Linked DNA regions of Homo sapiens: regions 2, 3, 4 and 5 are each linked to region 1. Evidence: promoter capture Hi-C in human tissues and cell types (Jung and others, 2019). All regions are on one chromosome and are shown on one strand. Each heading gives the region's core, a stretch centred on a gene start or on the middle of the fragment in contact. The rest is flanking DNA. Distances are from core to core; before and after follow the strand shown.

The links. Contacts are between HindIII fragments. The study calls those that stand out against the background at their distance.
Region 2: a contact is called between the fragment with the promoter of DHDH here and the fragment with the promoter of RPL18 in region 1, in 2 of the 25 tissues and cell types used here (pancreas and spleen).
Region 3: a contact is called between the fragment with the promoter of PLA2G4C here and the fragment with the promoter of RPL18 in region 1, in 1 of the 25 tissues and cell types used here (dorsolateral prefrontal cortex).
Region 4: a contact is called between the fragment with the promoter of GYS1 here and the fragment with the promoter of RPL18 in region 1, in 1 of the 25 tissues and cell types used here (spleen).
Region 5: the fragment with the promoter of TULP2 here is called in contact with the fragment with the promoter of RPL18 in region 1 in 1 of the 25 tissues and cell types used here (psoas muscle).

What each region holds. Positions count from the first base shown.
Region 1 is chr19:48,617,928-48,622,693 of GRCh38, reverse strand. It overlaps RPL18 (ribosomal protein L18), which reads left to right and starts at 3,516. Exons shown (of 7, transcript NM_000979.4): 1 at 3,516-3,553. The coding sequence starts at 3,551. It overlaps SPHK2 (sphingosine kinase 2), which reads right to left and starts at 3,188. Exons shown (of 7, transcript NM_020126.5): 1 at 3,151-3,188; 2 at 2,141-2,292. The coding sequence starts at 2,179. RefSeq lists enhancers at 2,845-2,934, 3,095-3,774, 4,045-4,766. The HindIII fragment of the contact is 9,176 bases long and covers 1-4,766 here.
Region 2 is chr19:48,929,873-48,934,948 of GRCh38, reverse strand. DHDH (dihydrodiol dehydrogenase) reads right to left here and starts at 1,250. Exons shown (of 7, transcript NM_014475.4): 1 at 1,138-1,250. The coding sequence starts at 1,227. RefSeq lists an enhancer at 1,176-1,677. The HindIII fragment of the contact is 30,682 bases long and covers 1-5,076 here.
Region 3 is chr19:48,107,351-48,112,366 of GRCh38, reverse strand. PLA2G4C (phospholipase A2 group IVC) reads left to right here and starts at 1,550. Exons shown (of 17, transcript NM_003706.3): 1 at 1,550-1,880. RefSeq lists an enhancer at 1,575-1,734. The HindIII fragment of the contact is 42,556 bases long and covers 1-5,016 here.
Region 4 is chr19:48,991,299-48,995,778 of GRCh38, reverse strand. It overlaps GYS1 (glycogen synthase 1), which reads left to right and starts at 2,470. Exons shown (of 16, transcript NM_002103.5): 1 at 2,470-2,784; 2 at 4,296-4,477. The coding sequence starts at 2,667. It overlaps RUVBL2 (RuvB like AAA ATPase 2), which reads right to left and starts at 1,892. Exons shown (of 15, transcript NM_006666.3): 1 at 1,856-1,892. The coding sequence starts at 1,867. RefSeq lists enhancers at 1,994-2,083, 2,774-2,913 and a silencer at 2,204-2,563. The HindIII fragment of the contact is 7,369 bases long and covers 1-3,346 here.
Region 5 is chr19:48,895,512-48,900,149 of GRCh38, reverse strand. TULP2 (TUB like protein 2) reads left to right here and starts at 1,406. Exons shown (of 13, transcript NM_003323.3): 1 at 1,406-1,560; 2 at 2,281-2,313; 3 at 2,754-2,805; 4 at 3,594-3,720. The coding sequence starts at 2,282. RefSeq lists a cis regulatory region at 662-1,661, enhancers at 1,196-2,011, 4,459-4,638 and a silencer at 3,893-4,032. The HindIII fragment of the contact is 17,343 bases long and covers 1-4,638 here.

The sequences.
Region 1 (4,766 bases), core at 2,267-4,766:
TAGCAACAGCACCAGATAGTATGTGCCAAGGAATGACACGGAGAGAAGGGGGAACAGAAACCCAGTAAGACTGAGACTGGGGCACAGCAACTGAGCTTGGGGCCCTGGGAGAAGGAAAGGCAGAGACACTGGGCAAAGAAGCTGAGATTCAAACATAGAGCCTAAGTCACACAGACGAGAGGACAGGGAGGAGGAAAAGGAGAAAGGACCCTGCAGCTCACACACACTTGCTGTGTGACTGCTGGGAAGCCCCTGAATTCTTGGCCTCAGCTGTCCTGTCTGGGAAGTAGGGAGAAAGCTATTCACACTGAAACAGGAATTAAAAGAAATTAAAGAATGTGTAAGCAAAAACTCAGTTGTATGTAAAAAACCCAATTCCCCCTGAGGAAGAGAAAGAGATTGAGTCCTTTATTTTTTTTTATTTTTTTTTTTTTTGAGACGGAGTTTCGCTCTGTCGCCCAGGCTGGAGTGCAGTGGCGCGATCTCGACTCACTGCAAGCTCCGCCTCCCGGGTTCACGCCATTCTCCTGCCTCAGCCTCCCGTGTGTAGCTGGGACTACAGGCGCGCGCCACCATGCCCGGCTAATTTTTTTTGTATTTTTAGTAGAGACGGGGTTTCACCGTGTTAGCCAGGATGGTCTCGATCTCCTGACCTCGTGATCCGCCCATCTCGGCCTCCCAAAGTGCTGGGATTACAGGCGTGAGCCACTGCGCCCGGCCCGAGATTGAGTCCTTTAAAAATTAACTGCCTGTTTTTCTGTTTGTGGCTAGTGAGCCTTATCTAACTCCCTTTCCCAGGCATCGTGAAGACCCTGTTTCTCTAACTGTGCAGCTGCAAGGTCACTAGACAGGATAAACTCAAGTCCTAAAACATGTTTTTCCTTGAAAAGTAAGAAATAATGTAATGCATGTCTCAATTGAATAACTGTCTTTGTTTCTCGCTGCTATAATATGCTTCCCCCTGCACAGATCTCCCCCTACCCCACGAAATACTTAAAATGTAACTTGACTCTTTGTTCGGTGCTCAGTCTTTTTCGATGTTAATCTGACTGGGCCAGTGCACCTAAATAATAAATAATAAGTATCCTCCTCAACCCCTCAGTTTCTCTGATTCCTAAATTATCCCACTGGAACACCTGCCTGGAGAGAAGGTCTGAAATCACTTATGGAAGGGCTCCCAGGCTGGGCGCGGTGGCTCATGCCTGTAAGCTCAACACTTTGAGAGACTGAGGTGGGAGAATCCCTTGAGCTCAGGAGTTCAAGACCAGCCTGGGCAACAGAGGGAGACCTAGTCTCTAGAAAAAATAAAAAAATTGGCCGGGTGCAGTGGCTCATGCCTGTAATCCCAGCACTTTGGGAGGCCGAGGCCGGCGTATCACCTGAGGTCGGGAGTTTGAGACCAGCCTGACCAACATGGAGAAACCTCATCTCTATGAAAAATACAAAAGTAGCTGGGTGTGGTGGCGCATGCCTGTAATCCCAGCTACTTGGGAGGTTGAGGCAGGAGAACTGCTTGAACCCGGGAGGCGGAGGTTGCAGTGAGCCAAGATCGTGCCATTGCACTCCAGCCTGGGCAACAAGAGCGAAACTCCACCTCAAAATAAATAAATAAATAAAAATAAAAAAATTAGCCAGCCATGGTGGAGGCTACTTGGGAAGCTGAGGTGGGAAGATCACTTTAGCCCAGGAGGTTGCAGCTGCAGTAGGCTGTGATTGTGCCACTGCTTTCCAGCCTGGGCAAGAGTGAGACCCTGTTTTTTCTTTTTTTTTTTTGAGACGGAGTCTCACTCTGTCACCCAGGCTGGAGTGCAGCGCGATCTCGGCTCACTGCAACCTCTGCCTCCCGGGTTCAAATGATTCTCCTGCCTCAGTCTCCCGAGTAGCTGGGATTACAGGTGCGCATCACCATGCCTGGCTAATTTTTGTATTTTTAGTAGAGATGGGGTTTCACCATGTTGGCCAGGCTGATCTCGAACTCCTGGCCTCAGGTGATCCGCAGGCCTTGGCCTCCCAGAGTGCTGGGATTACAAGCTTGAGCTACCACGCCTGGCCTCCAATTTTTTTTTTTTTTTTTTAAAGAAAAGCTTCAGATTTTGTCTTTCCACAGTATGAGGATCTTGGCTTTTAGATGGTCCCTTACCTGGTCCTGCTGCTCCTCTGCTTCAAGGTGTCCATTCATCTGCTGGTCCTCTGCTCTGTTACATCAACGGGACCCTGGCCCTGGGTCTTAAGCCATAGTAGGCTGGTAGGAGCAAGGAGTCAGGTCTCACTGTCCTGGCCTGACCTTCAGCTCTGTGGAGGAGAGGTAAGTGAGGAGCAGCATTGACAGCCAACTGCAGGAGGCCCTTCCAGGCTCAATGTGCCTGAGAACCAAGAGGCAGGGGCCTCCCTGGCGGGTGGGGGGAAGAGTAGATAAGTCATTTTAATCACTGCCCCAGCCAGTCCATCTGGTTGCACACAATATGTATGCTATAATAGGAGTGAAGGCTAATTTTTATTGAGCACTTATTATGTGCAAAATATTGACCTCAGCAGTTTTATTAACTTTCATAATCCTGAAAAACACCCCTGTGTGCCAGGCCTGTTGTCATCCCCTTTTTGTCCATAAGGAGAGTAAGGCCCAAAGAAGTTAAGTGATTTTCCCAAGATCACAGAGAGGTTAAATGACTTGCCCAATCACCCCATTAGTAACTAGCAGAGCCAGGATTTGAATTTGGTTATAGCCTTGCAAGGCCCCATCTCACCATCTTTCTTTGCCACTACTTCTCCCTGGGTCTCCATCTCACCCCTCTTTCTAGGTCTCCTTCCTACCCTTTGGGCCTCCATTCCCCCCACCCCCAAGCCACGGAGTCTCCATTTTGCCTCCCCTATGAAACTCTGTCTCCCTCTTTCTAGGTCAGGGAAGGGCCATCTAGGGGCCGGGGGAGAAGGAGAAGCGGAACTCAAAGGATGGGAATACAGGATGCTATAGATTGAGGTGCAGCAAGATCATCTCGGGTTAGACCTTAAGTAGGACTTCCCAAGCAGCGGCTGCGCCTACGAAGTGCAGCGCGAGATCAGGGAGCGGTGAACCTGATAAGGAAACGCCCGAAGCGTGGGGTCGGAAATTTCCAGATGCCCCGACTAGCCCTGCCAGCCCCGCCTCCTCACCTCCAACACTGGGCCCGCCGGGTCCTCCGGGAGCCACTGAGAGGCCGTCGGCGTCGGGCCAGAGCGTCACCGCGCGACGCATCGTGCTAGCTACACGCATCTCGCTCCCAGATCCCTTTCTTCCGGAAAGCTATCGAGAACACGGCCTGGGTAGGGCCAGAGAGGCCCCCGACGTGCTGGCCCTTCCCTCTTGGACGTTGCGCTTGTTCCTGCGCTCTATGCTCTCTGCCGTTATCGCCCGGCTAGTCAGTCGTCCAACTCACCACAGAGAAGTCCGGATCGTGGTAGAGCGCCGCGTCGCACCCATGTGACGTCACGGCGGCGCCACTCGCTTGAGGCTTTCCCCGCCCACCCCAGCCCGTTCTCTCTTTCCGGACCTGGCCGAGCAGGAGGCGCCATCATGGTGAGCTCGCTTTGCGGCGTTCGGGGCTGGATAATCCGCTGCCATCCGCCGTGGTTTTGGGCTAGGGGCACGCTGGAGGGCGGCAGGGGGTCTGCGGCTGCCCGGAGGGAGCAATTCCCGATACTGGGGACCTACTCTGGGGGCCAGGAAAGCAGGGATGGGTCAGTCATAGCCTACCGCCCCCACTTAGTAGATGACCAAGTGGAGGTACTCGGAGGCTGATATGACTGGGTTTACAAAGCCAGGAAGTGGCAGAGCCAGGATTCCGACCCAGGTGGCTGGACCCGCAGCCACTCTTAGTTATTTGGCTTTGCTGCCTTTATCTGGACCTGTCACTTTCTAGTATGAAAAGTCGGGTTCGATGGGGGCCGCGGCGGGTGAGAGGATCGAGAGCCGAATAACTGGATTTGGGGACCAGGCAGGTCTCTGAGTCTCAGGCCCCTTCCCACCTTGTGATGGTTTTTGAGCCTTTGCCCCAGTGTCTGGCTGTTCGTTGGGTACACAGTAATCTCATCTGACAAGTTTGTGAATTTGGGAAGAAATAATTCACAGGAGATGCTCATCACGGGGTTTTGCACACAGTAAGTGCTGCATAAGTGGAGCTATTAAATAGTTCTTGTAATTGTCAACACAGTCTGAAAAACTTAAGTTGCTCAGAAAGGCAGCAGGGCGGTAGGAGCCTGGCGAGGCGGCTCACGCTTGTTATCCTAGCACTTTGGGAGGCCGAGGCGGGAGGATTCCTTGCCCAGGAGATCAAGACCAGCCTGGCCAATATTGTGAGACCCTGTCTCCACTTTAAAAACGATGTTTTAAAAAGACACTATTTGGTAAGGGTTGTTGGATTGACTGATGCTGTAGGAGAGGTGGTTCTAGTAGTATTGCTAGGTTCTGAATAAGGATTCGTTTTCATCATTACTGCCATTGGTTTGATATTTTTGGTTATCCCTCCGGGTATGGGAACCAGTTTTGATAACATTGTTGCAAAATACAAGTTGTAAAGAATTGACCTTTTTGTATTAAGTTAATATGATTGCTGTGTTACGATGTTTCAGGGTTCTGTGTGCCATGGGCTGAAGGCTTTGTAAACAGCCCCTTTTTACAGAGGGATCAGTGGCAGCCCACAGGTCTCCTGGTGGTGGGCCTGGGATTTGAGCTGGTGTGTTCAGACCTGGGCTTGTGTCCCAGCTCTCAGTTTCAGAAATAAGTAATAATT
Region 2 (5,076 bases), core at 1-2,500, 310 kb before region 1:
GGGTGGAAGGGAGGCAAAGGAGGAGGCTCTGGCCAGGGGAAGGGGAGACGTGGTCCTGGGGGAAGAGATGACGGGGGCTGGACATTTGGGCCCTGGGAAAGAGAGATCTGGGGGAAAGCCGTTATTAAATCCCCCAATATTGAAATTATCTTCATAGTAGCTTACATCAAGGCCTTTCCAAACCTCAAGACACTCAGGTTTGTGTGGGGAAAAGAAAGAGAGATCAGATTGTTACTGTGTCTATGTAGAAAAGGAATCTGTATCATGAATAAGTTCAAGGAAAGGTGCTGTGACCGGATGTGCACGTAGGCTAGATTTATGTTTCACTTTACACAAACATCTCAGTGTAGCAAAGAGTAACAGAGCAGTATCACTGCCAGCATATCTCGCCTCCAGCCACAGGTAGGTTTTCTCCTATCTCAGAATAGAAGGAATGGGAATGGTCCGCTTTACACTGAGACAGTCCATTCCCAGGGAGAGCAGGAGACAGAAGCCTTCCTCTTATCTCAACTGCAGAGAGGCCTCCCTCTTTCACTACTCCTCCTCAGCACAGACCCTTTACTGGTGTCGGGCTAGGGGATGTAAGGTCTTCCTTTCCCACGAGGCCATATCTCAGGCTTTCTCAGTGGGGGGAAACCCTGGACAATACCCAGGCTTTCTTGGGCAGAGGTCCCTGCGGCTTTCCGCAGTGCAATGTGCCCCTGGTTAATAGAGAATGGAGAATGGCGATGACTTTTACCAAGCATACTGCCTGCAAACATATTGTTAACAAGGCACATCCTGCAAAGCCCTAAATCCATTAAACTTTGATTCAATACAGGACATGTTTCTGTGAGCACACGGTTGGGGCTAAAGTTACAGGTTAATAGCATCTCAAAGCAGAAACAATTTTTCTTAGTACAGTTCAAAATGGAGTTTCTTATGTCTTCATTTTCTACGTAGACACAGTAACAATCTGATCTTTCTTTTCCCCACAGGTTTGCAGAACAGAGATGGAGAAGGAGGTAGCAAGGAAACAGACGTTTCACTGCAATGACGACCCACTCACTAGTCCTGAACCCTAAACTCCCTCCTCCTTTAGACTCTGGAGTCCCGCCCCCCGCCTCCTCTTCCCCAGAATCCGGAGGGCGGGCAGACCTGGTGCTCAGAGCGAGGCAGCGTCTGCAGCACGGCTGTGAAGTCGCTGGAGATGAGGCCGACAGACACGATGCCCCAGCGCAGCGCCATGGTTGCGATGCGGAGCCCTCGGCACCTTCGGTCCCTCCAGGCGCGAATTAAGTACCTGACGCCCCGCCCACCCCGGGGGCGGGTCCCCATCCTCCGCCCGTATTGCGCCTACGCCGATTCTCGTTGGCTCCAGTCGGCAGAGCGGTCATTTAGTTCTAGCTTCCCCGCTGGGCGAATGCACCGTTTAGCTCCGCCTTACAGAGGGAACCACACCTTGACGTCGCTTCTACAGATCTCTTACCTATGACTTTAGGCTCGTCGGATACGCGGGGTAAGGACAGCGTGGGGAGGAGAGGTTTGCTTTCTTGCCAACACCAATCCTTGAGAGTTAGATTTAATGTCTTGCCCTCTGGACTTTGTGGCAAAACTTTGCCCTGACTTTTTTGCTCTCAAAGCCACGCATCATTAGGGGTTGTTCACAGAGAGAGAGAGGATTGTAACAGCAAACTTAATAATTATTACTAATATGTATAGAGCACCTGTAGACCAGCTCCTCAGCTCTGCGCTTTACCTTCTTCGTTCCTAATTTCTCCCCGCAGACCTGGGAAGTAGCTTCTATTGTCCCCAGTTCACAAAGGGGGAAACAGACTCCAAGATCCCTGGTCATTTTTTGGAGGTCTCACAGTCAGGAGGTAAAGACCTGTGAATTGGCTGCTTCCAGAAGCTATAGTTTTAGAAACCAGGCTGCTTTGCTTGTTAGGAGCCCCAGAGCCTGGCCGACTGGTTTCAAAACCCTCCTTGCCCCTTCTTGGCTGTATTGCTTTTGGACAAGAGGTCGCCCTCTCTGGTCCTCACTTTTCTATTCTGGAAAGCAGAGATCATGATAACATCTACCTACATAGGGTTGTGAGGAGGATTCATTGAGCTCTATGGTCTATTATGTAAAATATACTGTATTATTATAATTATTATTGATATAGGGTCTCGCTCTGTCGCCCAGGAAGGAGTGCAGTGGCACAATCATAGCTCACTGCAGCCTCAAATTCCTTAGCTCAAGGAATTAGCTCCTGCCTTAGCCACCCTAGTACCTGGGACTACAGTAGCTGGGACCCAAAGTAGCTACTGGCTACTACACCTGGCTAATTATTTTGTTTTATTTATTAATTATTTTAGAGATAGGGTCTCACTCTGTTACCTAGCTGGACTGCAGTGGCGTGATAATAGCTCACAGCAGCCTTGTACTCCTGGGCTCAAGCTATCTTCCCGCCTCAGCCTCCTGAGTAGCTGGGAGTATAGGCATGTGCCCCACTTACCGCTATTTGTTTGTTTGTTTGTTTGAGACGGAGTCTCACTCTATCCCCAGGCTGGAGTGCAGTGGTGTGATCTCAGCTCACTGCAACCTCCGCCTCCCTGGTTCAAGTGATTCTCCTGCCTCAGCCTCCTGAGTAGCTGGGACCACAGGCGCCCTCCACCATGCCCAGCTAATTTTTTTTATTTTTAGTGGAGACAGGGTTTCACCATGTTGGCCAGGATGGTCTCGATCTCCTGACCTTGCGATTTGCCTGCCTTGGCCTCCCAAAGTGCTGGGATTACAAGCATGAGCCACTGCACCCAGCCTGCTAATTTTTGTTGCTGTTGTTGTTTGTTTTTTGTTTTTGAGACGAAGTCTCGCTCTGTCATCCAGGCTGGGGTGATCATGCAGTGGCATAATCTTGGCTCACTGCAACCTCCACCTCCCAGTTTCAAGCAATTCTCCTACCTCAGCCTCCCGAGTAGCTGGGATGACAGGCGCCCACTACCACGCCCGACTAATTTTTGTATTTTTACTAGAGATGGGGTTTCACTGTGTTGGCCAGGCTGGCCTCGAATTCCTGACCTCAGGTGATCCGCCTGCCTTGGCCTCCCAAAGTGCTGAGATTACCTGCATGAGCCACCATGCCCAGCAATTTTTTGTACAGAAAAGGTCTCACTTTGTTGTCCAGGCTGGTCTCCAATTCCTGGGCTCAAGCAATCCTCCTGCCTCAGCCTCCCAAAGTGCTGGGATTATAGGTATGAGACACTGTGTCCAGTCGATTTTTAAACTTTTTATCAAGGCAGGGTCTTGCCAAGTTTCCCAGGCTGGTTGGGACATGATAATTCCTAACTGGCTGGCCAGCTTCACACAGGGCAGGATATTGTCACTTTCTCTTACTTGGTAGACAATAATTAAGACCTGAGTGTCACACATGGATTCACAGACTTCAAGTTTACACAAACTGCTGAATAGAAACACAAATGGGACCAGGCACGGTGGTTCACGCCTGTAATCCCAGTACTGTGGGAGGCCCAAATGGGAGGAATGCTTGAAGCCAGGACTTTGAGACCAGCCTGGGCAACAAAGCAAGACCCCATCTCTACCAAAAAAAAAAAGTGGGGGGAGGGGGCAGGGCATAGTGGCTCATGCCTGTAATCCTAGCACTTTGGGAGGCCGTGGTGGGCGGATCACTTAAGGTCAGGAGTTCGAAACCAGCCTGGCAAACATGGTGAAACCCCCATCTCTACTAAAAATACAAAATAATTAGCCAAGCATGGTGGCGGACGCCTGCAATCCCAGCTTCTTGGGAGGCTGAGGCAGGTAAATTGCTTGAACCTGGGAGGAGGAGGTTGCAGTGAGCCAAGATCGCACCACTGCTCTCCAGCCCGGGTGACAGAGAGAGACTCTGTCTCAAAAAAAAAAAAAAAAAAAAAAAAAGGTTTAGGGGGAGGGAAATCCACATAGGACACAATATCATTACTATGAAGAAAAAGAAAAAATCATTTAATAATAAATATCAAAAAATAATTTTGATACTCCCAGGTATTTGTCCTAGAAAGAAAAAATAACATGTTTGCACACAAACCAGTGCACAGGTGTTAGCAGCTGTACATAGCTCAAGCCCAAATGTCCTTTAAGCTGCCAGTGGATTCAACAAAATACTACTCAGCGGCCAGGCACAGTGGCTCACACCTGTAATCCCAGCACTTTGGGAGGCCAAGATGGGTGGATCACCAGGTCAGGAGATCAAGACCATCCTGGCTAACACGGTGAAACCCCATCTCTACTAAAAATACAAAAAATTAGCCAGGCGTGGTGGCGGGCACCTGTAGTCTGGAGGCTGAGGCAGGAGAGTGGCGTGAGCCTGGGAGGCAGAGGTTACAGTGAGCCGAGATCACACCACTGCACCCCAGCCTGGGCAACAGAGGAAGACCCGGTCTAAAAAAAAAAATATATATATATAATATATATATATATTTTTTTTTTGAGATGAAGGTTTGCTCTGTCACCCAGGCTGGAGTGCAGTGGTTCGATCTCAGCTCACTGCAAGCTCTGCCTCCCGGGTTCACGCCATTCTCCTGCCTCAGCCTCCCAAGTAACTGGGACTACAGGCGCCCACCACCACGCCTGGCTAATTTTTTGTATTTTTAGTAGAGACAGGGTTTCACTGTGTTAGCCAGGATGGTCTTGATCTCCTGACCTCGTGATCCGCCCTCCTCGGCCTCCCAAAGTGCTGGGATTACAGGCGTGAGCCACTGCGCCCGGCCTAAAATTATTACTTTCTTATTGCTGCACTCCAGCACCTCAGAGGAGGCAAAAAGGTAAACACTGAAAAGAAAATATGCCGGGCACGGTGGCACATGCCTGTAATCCCAGCACTTTGGGAGACTGTGGCGGGCAGATCTCTTGAGCCCAAGAGTTCGAGACCAACCTGCAAAAAATTAGCCAGGTGTGGTGGTGTGCATCTGTATTCCCAGCTACTAGGGAGGCTGAAGCGGGAGGATCGCTTGAGCTGGGAAGGTTGAGGCTGCAGTAAGCTATGATGGCACCTCTGTACTCCAGCCTGGGCAACAGAGTGAGACTCTGTCTCAAAAAAGAAAAAAGAGGGCGGGCGT
Region 3 (5,016 bases), core at 301-2,800, 510 kb after region 1:
TCAGTGACCCTCATGATGGCTCCACCAGGTAGGTACTTTTATTCTCCCCATTTAACAGGTGAGGACACTGAGGGGCACAGGGATGTAAGTTACCTTCCCTAGGTCCACTATCTAGGAAGTGGTGGGCCAGGGTTTGGTCCATGCTGTCAGCTCCTTGACCCTGCATCTATAACTACTAACTATACTGTGGAGAGCCTCATGAGCTCCTGCGAGGTGTAGAACCTTATCCCGCAGGCGGGGCAGTGGCATGGTCAGGTCTAGGAGTGAAAAGATCCTGCGATGGTTGGAGTTGCGGGCACTGAAGAGGTGAGCCTGGCGTTAGGGGGAGCAGGGGAGACCATCTTCCCCCTGGTGAAATCCTGTTCTAAAATTGGTGATACTCCTGCCTTGGCCTCCCAAAGTGCTAGGATTATGGCCTCATATCTATTTTTAAAAAATAAGAATTCAAGCTGGGTGCGGTGGCTCGCAACTGTAATCCCAGCACTTTGGGAAGCCGAGGCAGGTGGATCACTTGAGTTCAGCAGTTCGAGCCAGCCTGGCCAACATGGTGAAACCCTGTCTCTACTAAAAATACAAAAATAATTAGCCGGGCGTGGTGGCAGATGCCTATGTTCCCAGCTACTCGGGAGGCTGAGGTAGGAGAATCGCTTGAACCCAGGAGACGGAGGTTGCAGTGAGCCGAGATTGCACCACTGCACACCAGCCTGGGCGACAAAGAGTAAGACTCCATCTCAAAAAAAAAAAAAAAAAATTCAAAACCCATCGAGTTGGGATGACGCTTAGTGCTGGGCTTCAGGAAGAGTAGGCAGGAGGGTAGTATGGGAGGTTTCTAGGAGCCACTCTTGGAAGCGGTGCTCCCCACAGATGCCCGATTGCACTGACTGGAACTCGGTCACATGACCACATAACTCGCTCACATGACCACACCTAGCTGCAAAGGTGCTGGGAAATGTGGTACCCTGTTGGGAGGCCACTTCTGGGCTTCAAACCTTCACTGTGAATGGAGCTCACAGGTTTTCTAAAAATGGACATTAAATGAACCAGAGTTGGCCCTAAGGATCTGGCTCACTGCAACCTCCACCTCCCAGGATGAAGCACCTGCCTCAGCCTCCCGAGTAGTAGCTGGGATTACAGGCACACGCCACCATACCGAGCTAATTTTTGTATTTTTAGTAGAGAAGGTGTTTCACCATGTTGGCCAGGCTGGTCTCGAACTCCTGACTTCACATGATCCGCCTGCCTCAGCCTCCCAAAGTGCTAGGATTACAGGCGTAAGCCACCACGCCTGGCCTCAATATTTCTTTTTCTGGGTATTTGAGTATGATATTATATATGATGGTTATTAGACAGCCAGATGCATAGGAGGATTAGCTAATCTGTTTTGAGGAATACTTATCTCCAATATAGTTATATAACGACAACATTCTTTTTTTGAATACTGGTCTCGGGTGCCTAATGACAGAAGGGTGACATCACTAAGGAAGCCTGGAAAGTCCCAGCCCTCCACGTGATCCCACGGATGAAAATAGCTCCGGGTGAGCTCTGGAACAGCTGAAAAAGCTGGAGCAACCAAGCAGGGCCTACAAGCCGAGGAGGGCTGTTTAAAGGCGCAGGGGCCATTTTACCTCCAGGTTGGCCCTGCTCAGGACCAGGAGGAAACACCTCCAGCCCGCGACCTCCTCCCACAGGGGGAAAAGGAAAGCAGGAGGACCACAGAAGCTTTGGCACCGAGGATCCCCGCAGTCTTCACCCGCGGAGATTCCGGCTGAAGGAGCTGTCCAGCGACTACACCGCTAAGCGCAGGGAGCCCAAGCCTCCGCACCGGATTCCGGAGCACAAGCTCCACCGCGCATGCGCACACGCCCCAGACCCAGGCTCAGGCAAGCCGTGGGGGCAGGGAGGGCTGTTTCATCCCGCTGGGGCGGCCATAACCAAGTACCAGGGATTGGGTGCAATTAAATAACAGGATTTCTTTTTCTTTTTTATTTTATTTTATTTTATTTATTTATTTATTTTTTTTTGAGACAGCATCTCGCTCTGTCGCCTAGGCTGGAGTGCAGTGACGCGATCTCGGCTCACGGCAAGCTCCGCCTCCGGGGTTCAAGCGATTCTCCTGCCTCAACCTCCCGAGTAGCTGGGATTACAGGCGCACACCACCACACCCGGCTAATTTTTGTATTTTTAGTAGAGATGGGGTTTCACCATGTTGGCCAGGCTGGTCTCAAACTCCTGAACTCGTGATCCACCCCACTCGGCCTTCCAAAGTGCTGGGATTACAGGCGTGAGCCACCGCGCCCGGCTAGGAATTTATTTTCTAACACTTCTGGAAGCTAGAAGTCCAAGATCAAGGTGTTGGCAGGGTTGGTTTCTCCTGAAGCCTCTTGCAGAGGCCCTAATCTCTCCTTATAAAACCAATCAGGCTGGGCGCGGTGGCTCACGCCTGTAATCCCAGCCCTTTGGGAAGACGAGGCGGGCGGATCCTGAGGTCAGGAGATCGAGATCATCCTGGCTAACACAGTGAAACCCCGTCTCAACTAAAAATACAAAAAATTAGCTGGGCGTGGTGGCGGGCGCCTGTAGTCCCAGCTACTCCGGAGGCTGAGGCAGGAGAATGGCGTGAGCCCGGAAGGCGGAGCTTGCAGTGAGCCGAGACTGCGCCACTGCACTCCAGCCTAGGGCACAAAGCGAGACTCCATCTCAAAAAAAAATAAAATAAAATAAACCAATCAAACCAAATTCCAGGCCACCCTCAGGACCCCACTTTAACTTAGTCACCCCTTTAAGAGCCTATGTCTGGCCGAGTGCGATGACTCATGCCTATAATCCCAGCGTTTTGGGAAGCCAAGGTGGAAAGCTCTCTTGAGCCTAGGAGTTCAAGACCAGCCTGGGTGACATAACAAGACCTGATCTCTACAAAACATAAAAAATTTAGCTGGAGATGGTAGCATGTACCTGCACTTCCAGCTACTCGGGAGGCTGAGGTGAGAGGCTCGCTTGAGCCCAGGAGGCTGAGGCTGCAGTGAGCCACGATCACACCACTGCACTCCAGCCTGGGTGACAAAGCAAGACCCTGTCTCAAAAAGCAAACAACGAAAAAGAATCCTATGTCCAAATACAGTCACATTCTGAGGTTCTGGGGGTTACAAGTCCAACATATGAATTTGGAGGTGGTGGGGGGAAGCTGATTAATTTCATAAGGGGGGTCTTGAAACTGCCTTCGCAGAAATGTAAGTAATGAGAGAAAGCTAACATGACTGACCATCTTGTTTCTAACCTCACAGGCTAGATTTTTTTTTCTTATTCTAGTGCAGAGGCCAAAATTACCATGAGAGGAATTTAATTCATAGTTAAACTTTGAGACAAAGAAAACTGACCCCCAGTCCTTGTTGAGAGATTGAAGCCACATTCATTTACTTTTTATTTATTTATTTAGTTTTGAGACAGAGTTTCACTCTTGTTGCCCAGACTGGAGTGCAATGGCATGATCTCTGCTCACTGGCACCTCCACCTCCTGAGTTCAAGTGATTCTCCTCCCTCAGCCTCCTGAGTAGCTGGGATTACAGGCGCCCGCCATCATGCCCAGGTGACTTTTGTACTTTTAGTAGAGATAAGGTTTCACCATGTTGGCCAGGCTGGTCTCCAACTCCTGACCTCAAGTGATCCTCCCACCTCGGCCTCTTAAGGTGCTGGGATTACAGCCATGAGCCACTGTGCCTGGCCTGAAGTCACATTCATAAGACAAGGTTAGAATCATGAAGGTGCTGGAACTTTGCTAAAGAACAGTCGTGGGTTGAAGAATGACCTGCCATCCCTTAGCTTCCTTTTCTATATGTGCTCCAGAGTCACGTAACCAGGGGTCGCATGATTTATAACTTCCCCAGCTACTTCTATAAATAATATCACTGTCGTGAAACACAGAACTCAGCTTTTTAGTGGGGTGTGGTAGCTAACACCTGTAATCCCCACTTCTTGGGAGGCTGAGGCAGGAGGATTGCATGAGCCCGGGAGAATGAGACCAGCCTGGGCAACATAGTGAGACCTCAATCTCTACAAAAAAATTAAAACTTTGCCAGACGTGGTGGTGCATGCCTGTAGTCCCAGCAACCCAGGAGGCCAAGGCAGGAGGATTGCTTGAGCCCAAGAGTTGGAGGCTGCAGTGAGCTATGATTGCGCCACTGTAGGGACCAGCCCTGCAGGGTCTGTGGGTCTTTCTCCCCATGTGCGGAGACGAGAGATCGTAGAAATAAAAACACAAGACAAAGAGATAGAAGAAAAGACAGCTGGGCCTGGGGGACCACTACCACCAAGACGCAGAGACCGATAGTGGCCCCAAATGCCTGGCTGCGCTGTTATTTATTGGATAATAAGGGGCAGAGTAAGGAGTGTGAGTCATCTCCAATGATTGATAAGGTCATGTGAGTCACGTGTCCACTGGACAGGGAGCCCTTCTATGTTAGGTAGCCAAGGCGTAGAGAGAGAGGATAGCTTATGTCATTATTTCTTTTATGTTCTTTTCAGAAAGATCAAAGACTTTAATATTTTAATACTTTCACTAATTCTGCTACTGCTATCTAGAGGGTGCAGCCAGGTATACAGAGTGGAACAGGAAAGTGAAACAGGAGTGTGACCACTGAAGCACAGCATCACAGGGAGATGGTCAGGCCTCTGGATAACTGCGGGCGGGCCTGACATCACTCAGGCCCTCCACAGGAGGCGGTGGAGCAGAGTCTTCCCTAACTCCCCCGGGGAAAGGGAGACTCCCTTTCCTGGTCTCTAGGCACTGACGCAACCGCTAGACCAAGGTCCGCTAGGCAATGGGCATCTTCCCAGACGCTGGCGTTACCCCAAGACCAAGGGGCCCTCTAGTGGCCCTATTCGGGCATGACAGAGGGCTCACACTTGTCTTCTGGTCACTCTTGACCTCAAGTGATCTGACTGCCTCGGCCTCCCAAAGTGCTGGGATTACAGGCATGAGCCACTGCTCCTGGCAATAATGTTTCGTTTTGTTTTTGTTTT
Region 4 (4,480 bases), core at 1,221-3,720, 370 kb before region 1:
CTCCTGACCTCATGACCTGCCCGCCTCGACCCCCCAAAGTGCTGGGATTACAGGTGTGAGCCACCGCACCCGGCCTAATTTTCTTATTTTTTTGTAGAGACAGGGTTTCGCTATGTTGCCAGGGCTAGTCTTAAATTCCTGGGCTCAAGCAATCCTTCTACCTCGGACTCCCAAAGTGTGGGATTACAGGCGTGAGCCACTGTGCCCAGCCCACAGGTCTTTCTTCTCTTCTTCCCCTAGAGAGGACATGCAGTTATCCAGCCCAGAGGAAGCCTCCTCCCTCTGGAGCCAATCGTTTAGACTTTCTGGCCATCAATGGTCACAAGCTTTCCCTGTCACTGTGTGAACCTTCCCACCTACCGTCTCCTATAGGAAGCTGGAACCCAGGAGCATAGAACATTACCCCCAGACTACAAGCAGAAGACTAGGCATCCCCACCCCACAAAAAAGACATGAATCCAGGAATCCCAAATGTAGCTCTCTCAACATAAACAGGCCCCTTACCAAGGACTGTCTCCTATAAAGACTTTCTCTTTCATCATAAGTCTCTCCAAAACCTTGCTGCCCGCTGTTCCCATGAAAACCAAGGTCATTTCAAAACTCAGCACACACCGTCCCCTCATACTTCCAATACTTTCTCCACGGTAGTTCTGGTCATAGCCTTCCTCTTCTACTTCCCTATCCACCTCCTCCTCCTCCTTGCCCTGGTGACAGCAACAGACTCAAATCTCATCCCCAGCTACCAACAACTTTCTCCCCCTCCCTTCCTCCATCTTGACTGGGCTCATCATGGAAATTGAGGCACCTGTAAGCCCAGCCCAGTCCCTAAGTTCAGGTCACATTACCTTTTTTTTTTTGGAGACAGAGTCTCGCTTTGTCGCCCAGGCTGGAATGCAGTGGCGCGATCTTGGCTCACTGCAACTTCTGCCTCCCAGGTTCAAGCGATTCTCCTGCCTCAGCCTTCTGAGTAGCTGGGATTACAGGCCTGCACCACCACACCTGGCTAATTTTTGTATTTTTAATAGAGACGGGGTTTCGCAATGTTGGCCACGAACTCCTGACCTGAAGTGATCCGCCCGCCTCGGCCTCCCAAAGTGCTGGGATTACAGGCATGAGCCACCACGCCAGGCCAAAATCGCTTCTTTATTCAGGTAATTGAGCAGGTGCCAGGCCAAGTTTCCTGGCCTCTCCTTCATTCACATGTATTCATTCATTCAAATATTCAAGTGATAATTTATTGAGCATTTACACTGAGACGTAGCCCGTGTGAAATACTGGAAATATGAAAATGGCCAAAACGGTAGCATGACAAGATCCCGATTTCTGGGTCCCTAATCCTTCAGTCCTCTCCACTAAGACTCTCTTGTTCCTCGACAATTTCTTCCCACTAAAGGCTCACTAGGCGCCCTCGCGCTCTCAGACACACTGAACAGGTACCTGCCTGTGCTTCCAGCTTGGAACTCAAGTGCCATTGGCACCACTAACAATCCAAGGCTCCCAAATGGCTCGAAGCGCAAGGTCCTACAACCCTCCTCATCACACACTGGCGCCAAGGACTGCGGAACCGGCCGTTGCGCCAAGATGATTTTGAAAGTTGGAGTTCCTATAGCATGATGGGGCCAGACCCGAGATTCTGGGATCCCAGCCCCCTCCCCGCCTCAGATCCAGAAGTCCAGCCCCCATGTCCCCTTCTCCCCCAGATCTGGGTGGCCGAGCTTCCTCCTCTTTCAGACCCAGGAGTCTGAACCCCCAGATCCCCCCTCCCTCAGACCCAGGAGTCAGGGCCTCCAGCATCCTCCTCTCTCAAACTCGAGACTGCTAGCTCGCTCCTCACCCTCCATGCACCCACACTTACAACGGTTGCCATGATGCTCACCAACTGCCAGAGTCCTAGCGGAAACGGAAACGCGCGAGGAGCGAGATGTTCTGGCTCCTCTAGGCTAGCTGGTTCTTCAAAGATCTCGATGGTTCCTCATAAATATGTAAATATTGTGGGGGCGTGGCGGGACTTTATGCCCCGCCCTCCCACCGAGGCTGCGCTGGAAGACGGGCGTCCGGAACTCCTGGGTCCATTCCCAATGTCTCCTGGCTCCTCCTCCTTTTGCTCAGCCCCACCACCGCCCCGCTCAGGCCGATTGCAAAATTCTTAGCTGTTCTTTGAGTAACCACACGTCCTCCACGCTCCTTTCCTCTTTATCCCACCCTCCTCCTCCTCCCCACTTTGAGGCCTCCAGCTCCAGATTGACAGAGCTGAAGGCCACTCGTTTCCGTAAAGCGCAGCGGCAAGCTCCGCCCCCTGGAGGTCTCACGGCCGAGGCGGGGCCGGGACACAGCGACTCCAACCCGTTCCACCAATGAGGACACGCGGAAATCCCCGCCCCCGGGCGTGGGCCAATGGCGCTGGCTGGGGGGGGCGGCCACCGCCTCCTGGCGGCTGCGAGGTTTCACTGCAGGGGCGCCAGTGGGCTCAGTGACGCTGCGGCCTCCTTCTGCCTAGGTCCCAACGCTTCGGGGCAGGGGTGCGGTCTTGCAATAGGAAGCCGAGCGTCTTGCAAGCTTCCCGTCGGGCACCAGCTACTCGGCCCCGCACCCTACCTGGTGCATTCCCTAGACACCTCCGGGGTCCCTACCTGGAGATCCCCGGAGCCCCCCTTCCTGCGCCAGCCATGCCTTTAAACCGCACTTTGTCCATGTCCTCACTGCCAGGACTGGAGGACTGGGAGGATGAATTCGACCTGGAGAACGCAGTGCTCTTCGAAGTGGCCTGGGAGGTGGCTAACAAGGGTGAGCACGCCAGGCGTCGGGGCCCTTGACGAGAAGGACAGTAGTGGATGGGGGCCCGGAACTCTGAGTTGTAGGAGGACGGGGCTACTAGGGGAACCCTTGTGACCTGGGCAAGGAGGCTGTGTCCTTGAGGAGGGGCTGGGAAGCCGGAGGTGGGTGGGAGAGGGATGGTTCGTTTGACTTAAGATGAAAGGAGGCTGGAAGCCCGGGTTCTGGGTCCTAGGGAAGAGGGCGCTAAAATGAGACTCCTAGGTCCTGGAGGCAGGCTTCCGAGAGACTAGATACCTGGGTCCTGAACAGGGAAGGGGATGGGGGGATGGGATTTCTGCGTGCAAACCTGGGAAGCTGCCGGGGTTTCAGACCTATGACCCTAACAGCATGGTCTAGGGGATAAAACTCCAGATTTGAGAGAGAGCTGACTGGGAGATAGGAGGCCTGAGCGGCGGTGGGAGGACCTGAGGATCTGGCTGCTTAAGAATAAAGATGGGACGGGCTGGAGACTGTAATGAATGCCTGGGCTTTGAAGGAGCTGAGGGCCTGAGCTATTAGTTCCTAGGAGTAGAGGAGCCCATGGCCTGGGACACATGCGTACTGGAATAGGGGAAGGCTGGGAAGTCCTAAGTTAGTCAGAGGCTGGGCCCTAGGATGGGAGGGGCTAGGAGCCTGCATTTCTGTGTCTTGGGCTTCAGAAAGCTGAGGTTCTGGCCTTGGAGAAGGCTGGGGCTGAAATCCCCAGGAACAAGCCAATCTCACACCTCAAAGAGCAGGGTCTGGGGGGTTGCTTTGCTGGGTCTTGGAGGAGAAAGGGACTGTGTCTCCCAGGAGGAGAGGGGGCCCGTGAACACCCAGCCGGGTATCGCCAGGGCCTGGGCTCCAGGATGGGAGGAGGCTGGGGGCTGGGGCTCCTGGGTCTGGGATAGGGTCATGGGAGAGGCAGAGCCCTGCATGCTGGTGTCCCTAGTCAGGGAGAGGAAATTGGGAGGCAGGTCAGCAAGGTCCCTGGGGGCAGGGAATGACCATGCAGGCTTCTCTTGGGCAATGGTGAGAAGCTGGATTGGCCATGAGGGGGTCTCCCTCACTGGGTTTTGGAGCCTGGCTGCGATTTAAACCCAGCTCCTGTGAGCTGGGAACTCGGGAACCTGAGTCCGGGTAGTCAGTCCTCAGCTCTGCCATCCTTAGAGCCCCAGTGCCTAATTCCTTCAGACCAAGGGGTCCCGGCACCCAGCCCCTTCTCTCTCAGACCCAGAAGTCTAGCCTGAGCCCCCTCCTCCTTCAGGGTCCTGACCCCAGCCCCCTTCTCCCTTAGACCCAGGAGGACTGCCCTCCAGCCCTCGTGTTCCCCTCATCCAAGCTTCCAACCCCTACTCCAAACTATGGGCTCCCAGTCCCCTCTTCCCCCTGAGCTAGAGGTCTGGGGCCTGAGTGCCCCCTACATCCCCGGCCCACCCCACCCCAGGCCCCAGAACTATGGACCTCGGCCGGGGCCTGCCCTCACACGCTTGGGCCCACAGTGGGTGGCATCTACACGGTGCTGCAGACGAAGGCGAAGGTGACAGGGGACGAATGGGGCGACAACTACTTCCTGGTGGGGCCGTACACGGAGCAGGGCGTGAGGACCCAGGTGGAACTGCTGGAGGCCCCCACCCCGGCCCTGAAGAGGACACTGGATTCCATGAACAGCAAGGGCTGCAAGGTG
Region 5 (4,638 bases), core at 157-2,656, 280 kb before region 1:
CAGCCTCTTGACGCCACATTTCCCGCCTATGCCAAAAGAGAGAGAAGGCTTTCAAAGATAACTACAACTCCCTGCCGGCCGGGGGAAAAATAACTTCCGCGGGCATCGTGGCCCCTTCGCCTCATGGGAGCTGTAGTTTTCCCATTTATTTTCGCCCCACGAAGTGCCTGGAAGTTATAGCGCGGTAGCAATTGCATAGCCTTTCTTATGAGTTTCTTTCTTCTTCTTCTTATTATTCGAGACAGGGTTTGCTCTGTCACCCAGGTTGGAGTGCAGTGGCGCAATCACTTCTCACTGCAGCCTCTACCTCCCAGGCCCAAGCAATCCTCCCGCGTCAGCCTCCCAAGTAGATGGGACCACAGGCCACACTACCATGCCTGGCTAATGTATATTTTTTAAATTTTTAATACAAATATTTAAATCTTTAATTCTTTTTTAGCCTTTTTTTTTTTTTAACGTTCTGTCTTTCACACTTCTCACACTTTGTTGTTGTTGTTTTTTAAAGAGACGGATGTCAAGCCGGGCTTGGGGGTTCACTCCTGTAATCCCAGCACTTTGGGAGGCTGAGGCAGGCAGATCACCTGAGGTCAAGGGTTTGAGACCAGCCTGGCCAACATGGAGAAACCTCGCCTCCACTAAAAATACAAATTAGCCAGGCGTGGTTGCGCATGCCTGTAATCCCAGCTACTCAGGAAGCTGAGGCAGGACAATCTCTTAAACCCGGGAGGCGGAGGTTGCAGTGAGCCGAGATCGCGCCACTGCACTCCAGCCTGGGCGACAGAGTGAGACTACGTCTCAAAAAAAAAAAAAAATCTCTGTGTTGCTGGTCTGGATCTGGATCTCCTGGACTCAAGCAATCTTGCCTCCCCGTCTCCGCCTCCCAAAGTGCTGGGATTACAGGCGTGAGCCACTGCGCCCCGCCTCTTTTAAGTTTCTTGTAAGCGAGATGTGTACAGTGAGGCCGCGAGGTCTCTGGTCTCCCGCTCTCTCTCTCTCTTTTTTTTTTTTTTTTTGAGACGGTGTCTACCTCTGTCACACAGGCTGGAGTGCAGTGGCGCGATCTCAGCTCACTGCGAGCTCCGCCTCCCGGGTTCACGCCATTCTCCTGCCTCAGCCTCCCGAGTAGCTGGGACTACAGGCGCCCGCCCGCCACAACGCCCGGCTAATTTTTTTGTGTATATATATATATTTTTTTTTAGTAGAGACGGGGATTCACCATGTTAGCCAGGATGGTCTAGATCTCCTGACCCCGTGATCCGCCCGCCTCGGCCTCCCAAAGTGCTGGGATTACAGGCGTGAGCCACCGCGCCGGGCCGGTCTCTGGTCTCTTTAAGGAACCCCCACACGGCATTCGTGTTCAGAACCCCCGGAGCAGGGTTGCCTGGCTGCATCAGTGACCGAGTTCGTTACTTTGTTGGAAGTGGAGAGTGGAGGGTCAGAAGGGAGTGGACCAGTTCAGGTCCCAGAGGGAATCCTCCCTCCCTCTGAGCCGTCTTTCTTCTCCTCCCTATTTCGCAGATATCCCGAGATTAGGTCCCCAGCTTCCAAAGAGAGGATCAGGTATGTTTAGAGATTGGCCAGAGAGGCAAGGTACCGAGGCATCAATGTGAGCAGCCTCTCCAGGCACCTGGTGAGGAGAACAAGTCTCCCGGATCCCAGGCAGGTGGGCAGTGGAGTTCTAGGCCGCTGGGGGCTGGGTGTTTGAAGTGCACAGTCCTGAGTTCTGATGCCTGGGTGCTGGAGAATTAGATATTTGGGGGAGAGAGAAGCGGACTTGCGGACCCCCGTGGGAAGCTGGAAACAGGCTACTAGATCCCGACAGGAGTGGGTGCTGGGATTCGGGCTGCCTGGGTCCGGAAGCAAATTTAAAGGTAAGGATCAGGCCGGGCACTGTGGCTCATGCCTGTAATCCTAGCACTTTGGAAGGCCAAGGCGGGCAGATCACCTGAGGTCAGGAGTCCGGCACCAGCCTGGCCAACATAGTGAAAACCGGTATCTACTAAAATACAAAAAAATTAGGCAGAATAGCGGACGCCTGTAGTCCCAGCTACTCGGGAGGCTGAGGCAGGAGAATCGCTTGAACCCAGGAGGTGGAGGTTGCAGTGGCCGAGATGGCGCCACTGCACTGCAGCCTGGGCGACAGAGCGAGGCTCAGCTGTCTCTAAATACATAAATAAATAAATAAATAAATAAATAAATAAGGCTAAAGATTAGGTGCTGGTGGGCAGGATCCATTGGGATGTTGGTTCTGATCCTGACTCCTCATTCTTGCTTCTGCAGAATGTCTCAGGATAATGACACATTGATGAGAGAGTGAGTAGGGAAACAGATGGGTAGGGGTGGAGGTGGAAAGGGCTGGGGACCCCGTGCACTCGGCTCTGGCTTCATAACCATGTTTGCAGGTTCAGCACCATCGGCCTTGCAGGAAGGGGCTGGGGACCTGGACTCCTGTGTCCTGAAGGGATGGGGCTAGGGTGCAGACTTCTGGGTCTGAAAGAGAAGGGGTTGGGGGCCCCAGACTCCTGAATCCTGAGACAGGAGGGACCTGGGATCTCTGGGTCCCGGCTTCTGTGGGCCAGTGCCAGGAGAAAGGGCCCTATAACTGGTGGAGCAGGCTCAGGTTCTGCACCTCCTGTGACCTCACAGGTGCCCAGAACCCAAGCTGAGATAGGGGCAGGATGGGGGAAGGAGGGACTCTCTTGGGCAACCGAGGTTCCCTGTGCACTGTCACCATGGGCCTGTGTCTCTCTCAGCATCCTGGGGCATGAGCTCGCTGCTATGAGGCTGCAGAAGCTGGAACAGCAGGTATTGTGCCCAGGAATCTCACCACTCCAACTCTTCCGCCTTCTGTGCCTCCCCAGGGGCCTCTCCACCAGGTCTTGCTCTAGGACTCCCAGCCCGTGTTGGCTGTCTCTCATCCTTGAGTTTTCCCACTGAGAAATGAGAAAATAGGAATTTGGGGCCGGGCAGGGCAGCTCACGGCTGTAATCACAGCACTTTGGGATGCTGAGGTGGGCGGATCACTTGAGGTCAGGAGTTCAAGACAAGCCTGGCCAACACGGCGAAACCCCGTCTCTACTAACACACAAAAAATTAGCCAGGTGTGGTGGCAGGCGCCTGTAATCCCAGCTACTCGGGAGGCTGAGGCAGGAGAATCGTTTGAATCCGGGAGGCGGAGGCTGCAGTGAGCGGAGATCGTGGTACTGCACTCCAGCCTGGGCGATAGAGCCAGACTCTGTCTCAAAAAGAAAAAAAAAAAGTAAGAAAGGAAAAAGAAAAGAAAATAGGAATTGGGGGTTCTAAAGAAGCAAACAAACCCTTGTGATGAATTTCTAAGGAACAAGGCTTCTAGAAGGCAGGACTCCTGGGTCCTGGGGGATGAGAGGACAGGGTGTCAGGACTCTTGGATCTGAGTCCAACGGTGGAATAAGGGAGGAGCTGCTGAAGAACTGAGGGCCTGGACGTGTGGGCCCCAGTGGAGGAAGGGGTTCACGAACTCTCGCGCCGATGCGAGCCCTTGCCCCAGGCCCCACCTCACTTCTGTCTTCCCATCTGGTTCCTGTCCCGGACACCCACCTCTCCCATCTCCCCAGCGGCGGCTGTTTGAAAAGAAGCAGCGACAGAAGCGCCAGGAGCTCCTCATGGTTCAGGCCAATCCTGACGCTTCCCCGTGGCTTTGGCGCTCTTGTCTGCGGGAGGAGCGCCTTTTAGGTGACAGAGGTGACCAAAGACCCCTGGGGGCGTTCGCCTGGAGGGGAGGGGCCTGTGGGAGTCTGTGGGCGGGGCCTAGTGGATGAAGGGGTGGAGCCTTAGGGTGGGGACTTGGCAGTGGATGGGGGCGGGCCTTGGCCCAGGAGAGCTTTAGAACAGGGCCTGTGGGCGCCCAGGGGAGAGGCTTGTGGGGGCCCCCCGCGGCAGGACCTGTGAGGGAGGGGTTCGGGGCAGGGCTACAGAGCGCAGGGGCGGGGCATGGTACAACTAGCAGGGGAAAGGGGCAAGAGAATGTGATGATTGGGCTTGGCAGAGCTCGGTGGTGGAGCCTGGGAAAGCCGGGACCCCCACCCCAAACCCGGGATTGCGGAGACGGGGTCTAGGGGTCCGGGGCGGGGCGCGGTCTCATTACGAGAGCCTGGCGCGAGATTCTTTACGTGCGGAGCCCGCAACAATCCAGCGGCAGGGCTGTGCTTGTTTGAGGCTTAGGATGCAGTTTGGGACCTGGGTCTCAAGGTTTGGGCGGTCCGCGAAACAGGGTGATTTTTTTTTCTTTTTTGAGACGGAGTTTAGCTCTTGTTGCCAAAGCTGGAGTACAATGGCAGGATATCGGCTCACCGCAACCTCCGTCTCCCGGGTTCAAGCGATTCTCCTGCCTCAGCCTCCCGAGTAGCTGTGATTACAGGCATGCGCCACCAAGCCCGGCTAATTTTGTGTTTTTAGTAGAGACGGTGTTTCTCCATGTTGGTCAGGCTGGTCTCGAACTCCCGACCTCAGGTGATCCGCCTGCCTCGGCCTCCCAAAGTGCTGGGATTACAGGCGTGAGCCACGGCGCCTGGCGGGGGTGATATTTGGGAGCCCAGTGACGGGGTGGATTTTGGTTGAGGACCGGAATTTGTAGATCGTTTTCATGGGCTCGCTGAACCT